3 separate regions of the Homo sapiens genome follow, and regions 1 and 3 are each linked to region 2. Evidence: promoter capture Hi-C in human tissues and cell types (Jung and others, 2019). All regions are on one chromosome and are shown on one strand. The core of a region is centred on a gene start or on the middle of the fragment in contact, and the rest is flanking DNA. Distances in the headings are between cores, read along the strand shown.

The links. The method cuts DNA at HindIII sites, captures the fragments that hold promoters and counts their contacts. A contact is called where the count stands out against the background at its distance.
Region 1: a fragment that was not itself captured here is called in contact with the fragment with the promoter of TNR in region 2 in 2 of the 25 tissues and cell types used here (mesendoderm cells and stomach).
Region 3: a fragment that was not itself captured here is called in contact with the fragment with the promoter of TNR in region 2 in 3 of the 25 tissues and cell types used here (dorsolateral prefrontal cortex, hippocampus and mesendoderm cells).

The regions. Positions count from the first base shown.
Region 1 is chr1:175,821,202-175,825,457 of GRCh38, forward strand. No RefSeq gene overlaps it. Among named protein-coding and RNA genes, the nearest start is that of LINC01657, 54 kb to the right of the region's middle. The HindIII fragment of the contact is 5,458 bases long and covers 1-4,256 here.
Region 2 is chr1:175,741,470-175,746,262 of GRCh38, forward strand. It overlaps TNR (tenascin R), which reads right to left and starts at 2,126. Exons shown (of 23, transcript NM_003285.3): 1 at 1,757-2,126. The HindIII fragment of the contact is 10,162 bases long and covers 1-3,732 here.
Region 3 is chr1:175,639,856-175,644,601 of GRCh38, forward strand. The region is part of intron 1 of TNR (tenascin R); the gene reads right to left. Among named protein-coding and RNA genes, the nearest start is that of TNR, 100 kb to the right of the region's middle. The HindIII fragment of the contact is 5,100 bases long and covers 433-4,746 here.

The DNA.
Region 1 (4,256 bases), core at 1,267-3,766, 80 kb after region 2:
AGATCATGAAAATATGATGCGCCATTGTCTTCAAAAAGCCTTGTCGTTTTCCCTACTATATATCTGTAATTGATTTTTTAAATTGGTGTACAGAGAATCCAGAATTAATGTTTACTTGGTTATCCAATTGACCCAGGGTCATTTATTGAAAATATTTATTTTTCTTATCCAAGATTGTCTTGGCTATTCTCAGCCAACCTAATATATTTCTACTTCTCTTCTATGTCCTGAAACTACTTTTGATGATCTCCCCAATTTCCCAAACATCAAATACAAAGGAAATTTTTTCACTTTGACCTTAATTTTTCTCCCACCATTTAACACTCAGCCTTTGGCTCCTTAAAACTTCCCTTCCCTTATCTTCCAGGACACCATGGTTTTTCCTTTTTTTTTTTTTTTTTTTTTCCTGTACTGCTTTTTTTTCAGTTGCTCATTCTCCTCTCCCAGGATCCCTTCTTCAGTCTTTTCACTTCTCATTTCAGGACTCACACTCCTCCTAAGTGATCTTGTTCAAATGCAGGCCTTTAACCACTTCTATTCATGGGTAGCTCCCAAGCATTATTCCCAGCCCAGGTTTCTAATTCTCAAGTGCAGACGAAGATACTCAAACATATCCAAAACTGAATGCATTAATCTCATCAGAAAGAAGTCCAGTAAAATGGCCAGATAAAACATATATGCAAAAATTAAAAAGACTATTAATCAGAACCCCTTTAACTTCCAGTTTCACCACACCTAGAGACTTCTTAATACTCCCCCAACCACACCTCATCCTTCTTAGATCTCCATTAGCTAAAAAGACACCACTGTACTCAACTGCCTCAGCCAGAGACCATGAAATCTTCAAATACCTTGTCCAGGTTCTGATGACTTCACTAAGCTTCTCTCCTAACTATTTCCTCCTCTCAACCCCCACTACTGCTGCCCTATTTCAAGCCTTCACTGTCTCTCACATGGCTTTACTACAGCCTTTTGCCTTATCCCCCTGTATTTGGTCTCACGTGTTCAGTTTCCATACAAGGATCTCCCAACTGGTAACTAACATTTCCTTCTTTTTCCTACACACCAGCAATTGGTTCTCCCAGTTAAGTTACACTAAATCCACATACAAAGTCTCCATAAATCAAAATAGCCACCTGACAAGTAGGTGCCTCATGCCATGAAGTGTAATGGAAGACTTGGATACAAAAGCAAGGGGGCTTGAAGCACTGCTGGCTGCCCAAGAGGTGAGGGCATCACTGCAAGGGCAGAGGATGCAGAGGGGAAAGTTCTTAGGGCTGATATCTGGTCATGCTTGTTATCCTCTACATAGAGAAATAATACTGGCAGACATTCCCCACCAAATCCTTATTTCCTATCTATATCCTGTGGCCCAACTCTGATTCAACAGACCCTTGATATCTAAGAAACCAACATTATCACCTGCACCATTCACCAACAGCCCTAAAGACCCGTCAAGTGAAGATGTGTAATTTTGCAGAGGCACAAATCTCAACTACATATGCTATGGGGCTTCTTATTCTGCGTGAATCATTTAGCAGTTTGAAAGCCAAATGTCTTGGGGTTGGTGAGTCATGCCCTTGGAATAAAACCTGAGGGCTGAAGTTCAGGATTTGCAGCAAATGACTGAAACCAAAGGGGCCCTGGGAAATTGTCATTCTGGGAGCAAAAAGGAGGGAGGAAACTGAGATGGCAGCACTGCTTTTCACAGGGAATTCCAGGGACAGGAAGACCACCAGGGCAAGAGTGTTTGCCCTGGGGTCAAGACCCCCAGGGCTGGTTTTGGGCAGCTGAGTTCCTGGACCTCTAGTGAAGAAAGAGGAAAGTAGGACAAGCTGATCTGGGCCTCAGACAGAGACCCAGAGCTGGGCTAAGGCAAGTCCCATATGCAGTTTACAACAAGGACCTTAGCTGTTCTGAAATGGACCAACCCAAAGAGACAAGCTAACATCTACTCCCCCCATCAGCATGAAGATTCATATTCCTTTTGTTGTCCAAAGAAGAACTTACTTGGAGCACAGCAGGTCAGTCAGAACCATAACTGGAAGAAATCTGTGTGTAAAAGATCAGCAGGAGTGACACAAAATCCTCAGGGTCCTTGCCCAGAAGATTGATCCTTCAAAAAAGTGAGTCTTATTTGGGCAAAAGTGTCAGACTGCTAATATCCGTTTATTTGTCTGGTTTCTGCTCCATCTTGTATCCAAGGGTGTCTGGATAACTCTACCCAGTGAATAATAAGCCCATTTTATTTATTTAGGGGATTCTGTACTTTGTGGGGATACATTATCCTGGATATCAAATTAAATGCCCATTCACATTGAGCTCAAGTCACATGTCACCAAGGGCTGGGTATAGTAGCCAAGGAAGATGACACCTCCAGGGCTGGGTTTTGCAAGGAAATGAGTTTTAATCATCAAGTTCAGTTTCAACACTTGGAAATCATCCATCTTGATGAGGAAATAAAATCAGCTGATCTTTTATTTTGCTCATTTGAAGGCAATGAGACACTTCTTTGCATCAGATAATAGGCTTGTGACCCCAAAGGACACCTATTCTCACTTTACCATCTCAGCAGCTGTAAGCCCTGAGCAGCACACATGAGCATGAAGGAAAAGGGGCTTCCTTAATGGGCACAGTCAAGGATGGATGGTCTGAGCCAATAGCAGGGTCAGAGATACAGGGAACCCCAAACAGCAATTAATTTTAATTTTAATTTTAATTGGCCTAGGCATACACTGGATGACTTCTTGCACAATAAATCCATCCTCCTAATTATTAGCTTAATTAACTTAATTATCAGTTAGTCTAATATTTAAGTTAGTTGGTATTCTCTAAGTTATTCATAGTGCAAAAGGGCCCATGAGCATGCAAGGTCAAGAGGCCTGGGGCTGAGGTCACACTGATGGGTAACTGGGAGTTGACAGGCATTCCCAATGAGAACATCAGGCATGCCACTGACCTGATGTAAACCAGCTAAACAGGGCTCTGGGTCAGCCAGGCCCCTATCCTCTCCAGTTATCTTCGGGAGAGTTTTTCTCAAGGGTGTTGATCATCACTGAATTGAGGGAAGTTGCCCTATGTCACCATGCTGGTGCTCGCCTCCATGCCCTTATTCATCCTGCCTGTGGTACCCTTAGCCTTAAACTTCACTGAACTGTCTCCTACCCAAACTTTATGACTCAGCTCAGTGACGCCTCCTGCTGGCAGCTGTCTCAATGGGCTTGCTAATCAACTGTTCATGTATCAGTAGCACCCAGCACATTTACCTGTGGGGCAATGCACTCTATAAATATTTGATGAAGAAATGAATCAATTATTGTGTGCTTAGCACTTTTTACATTTAAAGTAATAGCCTCTTGTCTTATTTATCACTGTCAGTATGGTGAACCCCTTGAGGATAGGAAACTTATTCATTTTTATGTTCCTGCTCTTAATAATGAATGCCACAGAAAAAGTACTTAATAAATGGGGGCAGAGCCCACCTATCTCCACCCTAGGAGACTGACTTTTTTGCTAAGTAAGATAACTTTTGTGTGAACCTTCTTGGTGTATAAAGTATTTTCATGTGTCTTATCATTGTTTATCCTCACTGGGACTGGGGATGAAGGAGAGTGTATATGGGGGGCAGGGGTGGTGGGGGTGACTGTGAGTTAGATACTTTCATTATTCTCATCGTACAGATGAGGAAACTAAAATTCATGAAGTTACATGGCTTGCACATAATCACAGGCTCATAGGTGAAACAAGAAGTCTATCTGGATTTCCTGACTCTAAATCTACACTCGGTTATTTTCTAATCAACAGCCAAAGTTTGTTCCCATCTCTTAACCACAAGTCCTATCTCCCAGTTATACTCTCCTATCAACCGGCTATGAACTAATGTCCATTTAGAGGTTAACTCATTGCAGCTTAAGGGTTGAGATAAAGCACATACAGGGGAGTTTGACTTTCAAGATGATGATACTGAAAATTGATGTTCAGAAAGGAATGAGCTTCAAGTGCAAGAATTTTAGACACATGGCCAGGTGAGGAGAAGTTGATGAATAGCTATAGGCAGTAACCTGAGAGACCAGGTTAGCCATTTTTATGTATGCTATGTAAAATGACAATATTAGTCATTTATTACTGCATATCAGATACTCCTTAACTTAGCAGCTCCCAAGAACAGTAAACATTTATTATTGCCCACAGTTTCTAAGTGTCAGGACTCTGAAAGTGGCTTAGCTGGATGGTTCTAGCTCAGGGTACCTCCTGAA
Region 2 (4,793 bases), core at 876-3,375:
ATCTATCCACTCACTTGTTCAAACTGGAAGATTTCAAGGACAGGAGGTTTGGAATGTTAAAATACTGAATGAGTCAGTGTTGGTTTCTGATGCTCTGCATTTGTCTATTTCAGTCTTTCTTCCCTACCCTTACAACCTCTGACTTCACTGTCTTCCTGGATGCATTCTACTTCCTGCCACTCTAGGGAGATGCTAAGATTTCTGGATCCAATGCCAAGCATAGTAAAAAAGAAAAGTGGTGCCATTTCACTCAGAACTGTGTCTCTCACCCAGAAGGCTCCCCAGCCAGAGGCAGAGAGTATTTTCTTCATCTTGGAGAAGGGGCCCATTGTGCTGAATTAAAAATAAGACAAAGAATCACCATTCTAGGGTCCATTTGGGGTTGGAAAGAGTGAAACCACCCCACCTTGCCTATGTATCTCCCCTGTCTCAACACACTTGAAGAAAGTGACCAGAACCATAAACAGTTAGGGGTTAAATCAAGGGAAGACTTGCTCCTACAAGAAGCCACATCTCTTTCAAGTTCCCTGTAGGATGCTGGCTCCACGGAGACTTGAATGATTGAAGGAAATCCTCAACACCACTTGTTGAATGACTCAACCAGGTAGGTGTGGCCAGGACTGAATGGGGCAGGGGCAGGCCTATAGTGTCTCCAAGACAATACCAAAGCAGATGCAGGGAATTGACTGAACATACTTCAGAGAGGCAGAAAGCAGGAGAGACAGAGTAATACCTTGCAAAAAGTAGCAGCAGTGAAGAAAGAAGTAATAATGAGCTCCTGTTTGCAGAGCCTCTCAGTGCTGGAGGAGAACAGAGTACCACTTCAAGCCCTCCTGAGTCTGGGACAAGTCTAATTTTGTTTCTGCTCACCCTAGACATATAGAGACAAACCTTTATTCTTAGTTGTTTTTCACTGCCAAATGCCCCAGAAAACAGGGCAGAACAGACTTTGTCTTCTTTCCAACCACCCATAGCCAAAGATGGCATAAAAGTGGAGGGTACCTCCTGCCTCCTTGCAAATGTAATATAACCCACACCAGCCAGTCTCTGCAAAGCTCAAGACACTAGCACTTTCCTACCACCATGAAGTCAGAAGGGACCTCAACCCCCCAAAGCCGCCCCAGCCTGAGCTTCACCTGTTGCACCTGCCCACTTACCATGGGTTCACACCAGAAGAGAAAGTAAAAGGTCAGGTTGGGCTCTCTCCACAGCAAGAGCCCAGAGAATACTAGGAAACTGACATTTTACAAAGCACCTCTTTAAAGCTCTCTCAGAGGTGCGTAACTTTTAACTCTACCTCCACTCCCAACCCCCCAGGCTTCCTTTGCAACTCTTTCCCACCATGGATGGCTTGTCGGGAGAGAGTTAAAGAAGGTGCACGACTAATTCCCCAAACCATCTCGCTTATCTACAGACAAAAAGAACAGCCTTACATGGAGACACGCAGAAACCACCCGCAATTTAGCTCAGACCTCACCTGTCTTATGCAACAGTACACACACACACACACACACACACACACACACCCGCAAGGCCAGAGTCCAATCCCCCTTTAATTCGGTAAACATAGTTTTGCGCCTTTCTTTTCCCTACGCAGAACCCGACTCTACTGGCAGCAGAGAAATAGATGTAACCCTAGTGCCAAATGCCTTGCAGAACACACAGATACACAGGAACCAAAATGCATCTCATAGCTCTCCTTGGTGCTGAAATCACGTTAGCCAGAAAATCAAAGGAGCGAGTGCTCTGGACTTACCCAGGCTGGGGGTGGGCGGCCGGGGAGCGAGAGGAGCTTCCTGGGAAGAAAATTCTTGCTTGCTCAGGCTGGAGCCAGCTGATGCGCTCACCTAGAGAGCCCTCCTCTTTCCCTTCTCTTCCCTTCCTCCTATTCTGGGAGGAAGAGACAAGGCTCCACGAAAGAAATGAAACCCAAGCTGTCAGGGCTACGGGTGGAAGGAGAATGAGGAGGCAACCAAAATAAGATCAAAAAGTCAGGTGGCTTCACTCCACTAGTGGTAATTCCTTGGGTCAGAGAGGACCCCCTTCTCTCACTCTCCCTGGGTCTGCCCGTCTCCTCTGGGTGTTGAGCCAACAGCCTTAGCACAGTCGGTTCCTGCCTCTGACGTGAAAGAGAGGAGGAAGCCTGGGACTGCTTTGCTGTCTCTCTCTCTCTCTCTCTCTCTCTCTCTCTCTCTCTCTCTCTCTCACGCGCTCTCTCTTTTCCCCTCTTGCTGAAATTTCAGCAGCATGATTTTTTTAAGCCTCCGTTTTTTCCATCCCCCTACAAGCAGCCCCCTAGTGGACAGAAAAGAAAAGCATCCTAAATCCTCTTGAACAGTCCAGATTCAGGCACAGAAATACTCCCCGCACCCAACTCTTGGAGCTGCCTCTGCATAGGCAGGGTCCTGAAGAAGATAGAGGCTTCCCTCTGACCAACCCAGATAAGAAGAGAAAGGGAGAGGATGGAAGCTTTTGCAGATCCTTTGCCCATGATTGAAGGAGAAATCCAGGGTGGAATGGGTTGGGATAGAATGTTTTGGAATAAGGTCAGTTGTGGGGTTCTCAAGTGGTTTGAGGTCCGGGCTCAGCAGAAGGAACCCTCCAAAAAGTCAGCGTCTGCAGCCAGGTGAAGTATGTGTATACGTAGCACAACCCAGGCATGGGAATGCCTAAAGAGGCAGAGGATACAGGGAGCTGGCCCTTCATCCAACTCCACAATATAGCTTTTTTGTAAAGCTAGTAAGAAAAATATCTGAAAAGATATGGCCTGAGATCATCTCAGAAGTAGAGACAGAAGTGACCTTGATGCACATTTATGGAGAACCTTGGCAGAGAAGGGGCATCAAGGGGTCACTGCTCATAGGCTCATAAGGGATATCTAACATTCTCTTTTAAATGTACAGCCACACAGCCTCCCGGAAAGAGTCCTAATACTTACATCTAAAAATCTGAGTCCTGGTTTCAGACTGCCACTTGCTTACTGGACATTTTGCTTCTCTATGGCTCAATTTTACTGTTTGTAAAATGTGGATAATGCTGCCCCCTCCCTACTGAATAGGAATGCTAAGGGACTGGAATGATATAGAAACATAGAACCTCAGGATTGGCAGGGAATTTAAAGGTAATCTTATACAAACACTCTTCTTATATTTGATTCACTCCTGGCAAATAACAATAGCTAACATTTATAGAGTGTTTATACCAGGTGCTAGGCACTGTTATAAGCCCTTACATGTATTAGCTCATTTAAGCCATACAATAACTCTATAATGCAGAGGCTATTATTGCTACTCTATAGACTGGGAACTGAGTAACAGAGGAATGAAATAACTTTCCAAAGATCACACAACTAGTGAGTGTCAGGGATGGTAATGGAACCTGAGCCATCTGACCCTGGAGCTTCCTCATTGAATTACCATGTTCTATAAATGTACACTTCAGGAGTGACATTTGAAGTAAATAGAAGATAGCACCACAGTTATCATTGCTTTTATTTATGACAAAGTGCCTAGATTGTTACAATAAATTTATATGTGGCTGAGTTTTTAAAATAAAATATTTACCACTAGGGGTGCCAAACAAACTGTGGAAATTGCTATTACCGATGAGAATCTCCTAAGAAAATTAATTCTCTTGGTGATTTGGGTAGTTTCACATATACAAAACTGGCTTTAAATCTTATAAAATTGGAAACTATTGGGTTTTAACATCAGTTCAGAAGACACATCACTCAATTTCTGTACCAAAAGCAAATTATTGCCCACTGCCTAACACAGTGCAAGAACGGAGCCAGCAATTTGAAGAGCTGAAACGTTGTAATGCATTCAGGTAATAAACGCTCAGTGAGAAATTGACATTTTCTTCAGAATCTCAGAATTATGAATTCCTTAGCTGAGGTGGCTTACTTTTTCTGGCTTTTTTTTTTTTTTTGGGTGAAAAGTGGATGAAGTAGGACAAAGATGGTAGGTGACAATTAACAAATCATGGTCCCTGTCCTCAACAGAGTTACCAGTTCCTCAAAGGGGGAAAGAAAGAGCAAGACACAAATGATTACAATTCAAGGACTAAGTGCCAAGAATTTGGGCAGTGAGCACATGGAAAACACAACTAACTTGATCTTTGAGGGCTAGGGGAATTCCTAAGGTATGCAGCATCTAAGCTGAGGCCTGAATAATCAGAAGTCTTCCCAGCAAAAAGTGGGTGAGAGAATTAAGCTGAAGGCATAGCATGTGCAAACTCATGGAGGAGGGAAAGGGGAAAGAGCATAGTAGGAAACTTTCAAAGAAAGTATTACCCTTCCACTGACAAATGGGGAATCTGAGGCTCATAAAAGTTAAGTGGCTTGCTCAAGTTCACACATCTAATAAGTATAGAACCCAAATCAAATGCACATCTATTTGACTCTAAAGTCATCCCCTTTGTGAAGCATGATGATATCTTCTCTCATCACTTAGAAGTGCCCACACCATTTAATAGAGTGTTTCAATAACATAGAAGCTAACATAACCGAGTGAGGGTGTAGCATCTACCAGGAAGCTGGAAGTATGATCTGTTACTATTAGATGAGAAACCCATAAAAAAGGCACTAGTCAGTTCAAAAAAAGGGGAAATTTAGGGTGCTAGTATTTTTTTTCTGGTGGATGTACAATTATTAAATGTATTGGGAAGTAGGAATATTTCAGAAGTACGGAGACATCAGAGACTTGGATTTGAAATGAAGATGAATGTAGAAACGGCTAAAAGAAGGTTTCAGATTAAGTGCTCTGGGAGCCCAGAGGAAGGAAAGGTCCTTC
Region 3 (4,746 bases), core at 1,733-4,232, 100 kb before region 2:
TTGGTCTCTGTTCAAATGTCCTCTGTCAGAACCTTCCGTAACCATTGAACTCCATGTCCTCCTTGTCTTGCTTATTTTTCTCTGCAGAACCTGACAATCTCCATGAGAATGTAAACTCAGGAAGTGCAAGGACTTCTTCTGTTTACTGCTGTAACCCCACTGGCTAGAACAGTGCCCAACAGGTAGCATTACCCCAAGAAATATTTGTTGCCTGAATGAATAAAATCAGTTACATAAAGCTTCTTGCATATTTGGAAGGTGACATGAGTAAATAGGTAATTCCAGAGATAGATCTTTTTTAAGGGAGAGCCTGAAGATTTTATCCCTGTATGCCTTCTACACAGCTTAAATTCAGATAAAGTTCTGGGACCACAGAATAAGAGTATCCAAGTCTTCAAATTTCCTTCTTCTCTTTCCTCTATATGGCCTGTGTGCCAGGCAAACATTGAGCACATCCTTTCAGAATATTTACCATGAACTGTAAGGGCAATGAGCTCCTCAAGTATTTGGACGTCTGTCTGGGAGGGAGAATTTAAAGGTGTCTTGGTTGTTAAGCCATGTACTGGCACCATTATCTCTAGCACCAATGCCAGCCAGAAATTTTTGGCAGACATTTGATTTAAAGCTTGCCTGTCCAATTAGTTCAGAATCTTTATTCTAAAAGCTTACTTTGCCCTACCTACTTCAAAAGATTTTGTGAAGAGCCCATATTTAGTGGTTCTTTACTATGTGGAAGGACCCAGGGTAAGGTTTCTGCCATTCCCTTATATCTCCTTGGGCTCACGACAGTTCTCAAATCATGTGCATATTCTCTCCTATGCAAGACAATGCCCTCAGCTACCCTTTAAAGTACCTGGGCTAAGTATTAGTTGTTCACCCATTTCATCTGATCAATAACCTGTTACAACTAAATATATATATGTGTGTGTGTGTGGGTATATATATATATATATATGATAATAAGCCTTAAAATAACTATAAATTACCAGAAACAAAAGCAAATTTTCCTTCTAAGAATTAAATGTGTAACCCCTGTCCTACCAAATAGAAGTGCCTTGTATGAGATTATGTAACTGCCTATGTGCTGCTGGAAAAAGGTAACAACCTAGATTGTTGATGTAGAAATTACTCATCAAGCTGTCTTCTACATTATACATACTCTCACTTTAGTCATTGTGACACATATTTATGTGTTGATATTGTACCTCGATAATAAAAGAACTCAAAGTGCTGATAAAAAGATAAACTATAGAGCAAAATAAAATACATGAAATTTGGAGAAATTGGTTAAATAAAAATAAAGTAGGAAAACAACGCATCTTAAAATGAGGTTAATACATAAAATTTATACCCTGGGGTCATACATACTAGCAAGTGGCCAAACAAACATTTAATTTCAAGCTTTTTACCAGCCAATGGTGGGACGGAGGGCAGGGTTGGAGAGAAGGAGGGGAAAAAGAAAAAAGAGAGAGAGAAAGAAAGTGAGGGAGAGAGAAAGAACATCAATTTTGTGGTTTGCATTGTTCATAAGATAAAAATAAATGAGTTGTCTAGAAGTATCTAAGTGAGAATACCAAATAATTATCCTAAGTGTCCTTATAGGGAGGACATAGTAATGTAAAGATTAATATACTCAATGGCATCTTCTATTACTGTGGAGAAGGTACAATGGGATGGAATGGCTCATGGGGCAAAGAGTTTTTACCCTATCTGTAGGAGAAGGAGGCTGCTCCACAGTGCAGTGACCCTCCTTACATATTTTTGTCTTTAGCTAGGATAAAACAAAAGAAAATAAACTTCCCAAGTCTGACACTGGAATAAAAAAGTACTTTTCACTAATATGGCCCTTTGTTCATAAAGTCAAGTTACAAATGGGCTTGGTGTAGGATCTAGGATCGTGCTGAGGATCCTTTGTATTAAACCAAAGCGGGAGATGTGTTAGTCAATTATTGACTAGGAAAGCCTCATAGCGCAGGTTAAATAAATGAGTTATCCGAGGTGCTGGAGTCTATCAGTACAGGAAGAAAATGTAATTTTCATGCCAATGTACTTCGGTTCAGTTTAAAAGACATTTATTTGGAATCTAATAGGTGTTAGATACTGTTAAGCTAATGCTATGATGATTAATAAAACCCTGTCCCTGCTATCAAGTAGGTCATAATCAGAGGAGACAGAGAGGCAGACCCGGTAATCCTAATCCACAACCATATCATCCTTTAAGGACACTCTGCCAGAAAAGTGAAGGGGCCTGCAACTCAGCCCAAATGGATAAGAAATGACAACCAGAAGGGAAGATTTGTGAACTGAATCTTGAAGAACACTTCCCCCACCACCCGCCCCCAGTCCACAAGGGATAACCAGAGTATGTGAAAAGTGTATAGGCATTGTGTGCACACATACACACACGTGCTATGTGTTTGTGGTGGGGGAGAAAAAGTGTTGCAAACTTAGGAAATAGCATATGCAAAAGCTAGGAAGCATGAAACTGTAGGAAACTTGGCATGTTACTGAAACTTAATGTTAGAGGCAGGGAGTCACAGGAGATTCTTCTGGAGAAGAACCCAGAAGCCAGGTTATGATAGGAACTTGGGCTTTTTGTAAGCAATGAGGAATTACTAAAGTGGTTTAAGTTGAGGAGTGACATGGTCATAGTTACAGTCTATGTCAACCTTGCAGTGCAGTAGAGGAAGGGCTGAGGTTGGCAGCCAGGATGCGGTGCAAGGATTGCGGGGAGAGTGAAGACCTGGAGAACTGGCTAGGCTGTTGTAATGTCTGTCAGAAAGGATGGGGCCTCAGCCTGCTGCGGTGTCTCACACCTGTAATCCCAGCACTTTGGGAGGCCAAGATAGGAGGATCACTTGAGGCCAGGGGTTTGAGACCAGTCTGAGCAACACAGTGAGACCCCATCTTTACAAAAAATAAAAAATTAGCCAGGCGCAGTGGCATGTATCTGTAATTCCAGCTACTCAGGAGGCTGAAGCAGGAGGATCACTTGAGCCCAGGAGTTTGAGGCTGCAGTGAGCTATGATTGCACTATTGCACTCCAGCCTGGGTGACAGAGCAACATCCTATCTCTAAAACCATATATAAGAAATGCACATATATAATATGTAAAAGCAAGTATTGAGCCTAAAATAGGATAATGACAACTGGAAAGAGGGGCAAGTGATAGTTTTGAGAATCACTAGAGAAACGTTAATAGAATTTTATAATCTATTGGGTGAGAGGTGAAGGAAACAATGATGTTTCTCTCATTTCTCATGAGCGATGATGCACTGAGGGAACCCAGAAGGAGAAGCATGTCTATATTCCTGGCCTGCACCTCTTTTCAGATAATGTTGGTCCCTCACACCCAATTCCATAATCACTCCTGATATCCTGGAGTTATGCTCCATGCTCCTCTCAGTTGTAAGAGGACTTATGTGACATCTTATCAGCCTCTGATGAGAAGGCAGTGCTACTGAGTGGGAAGTGTTTGGAAAGGAATCAGGAGTTTTTGGCTTTTAAACCATCACTGGGCCACAGTGGTATTTGTCTCCATGAGTCACCAACGCCCTGTGCCTCAGTTTCTTCATATACACAGTGGAGATTTCCATGGCCTGTTCATCCACCTCATAGTCAATGTGAGAACCAGACACGGTGCTTTGTTGGACAATGCCTTTAAAATATGTATACTATGCAAAGACAAGACGCTGTTATTATTATAGGAAGGGAAAACAAAATAAAGGATGGTTTGTTTGAAGGATCTAGGAAAAAGAAAAATCTAGAAATGCAAGGGTGGTTCTGCAGAGCCTAGAGAACTTTTAATTATTTTCCTTCCTCTTTTCATTTTCTTTTCAGTAGGCAATGAAAATCACATAGAAATATGACCACAGAAATGATGCCAAATTCAATACTCATAATATCTATTCAATATTCAGCAATACACAGGCGATATCACAGATGGTTGTGGGATGTGATGGTCTCTTTCCAATAGTTCCAAAGGGGAAAACAAAATGTTATAAGACAACAACCAGTCATTTGATGCATCCTGATTGTTTAAGTGATATGAAAGTCAGCAATCATGTGCAAATTAAAACATAATTATGCACACAGACCACCCAGGATTAAGTAACATTTCACAGATGCATGGTAAATTACTAAACACCCTCTGAAATAAATTGTGATCATGATTTTCTATTTCCTCAAGAACATTATTACTTTAAAAAGTCAAAGTACAGAAATGTGTATTGCCTAATATGTTAATAGTATGCATGTGATGAGAGATTGTTACTACAAATTAGGGGGTGTGTTAGCTGCTAAGTATTTATGTTACCCCACAGGGTCAGTAAACAATTTATGAAAATGTGCATCAACAGACACATTGTCCAACAGCACGCCATTCCTCCCTTGGCAATGCAGGCTGTTTAGCTCTGAGGTAGCTGGTCTCAGTTTATTGCAGATCTAATCAGTGTCACCTTCTCATAACCCCCAGCTGCAATCAAGAATACGTTTCTCTATCCTTGATGTGAGCTATATTATACCGCAGTCTAACCAGATTATGGCTGTGGGCAGAAAGGCCACAGACGTGGTGGTATTGGAAGTTGGATCCAACAGTTGGAAGATGAAGAAAAACTGAACTGTGTGAGGACATATGTTATAAAGTAGACCAGTGGTTAATTCCTCATTGTCACCATTCCTCAGCAGCCCTCATCCAATTCCACAAAGCTGGACAACTCCAAGGGAAAGGTGACAATGTCCTGGGCC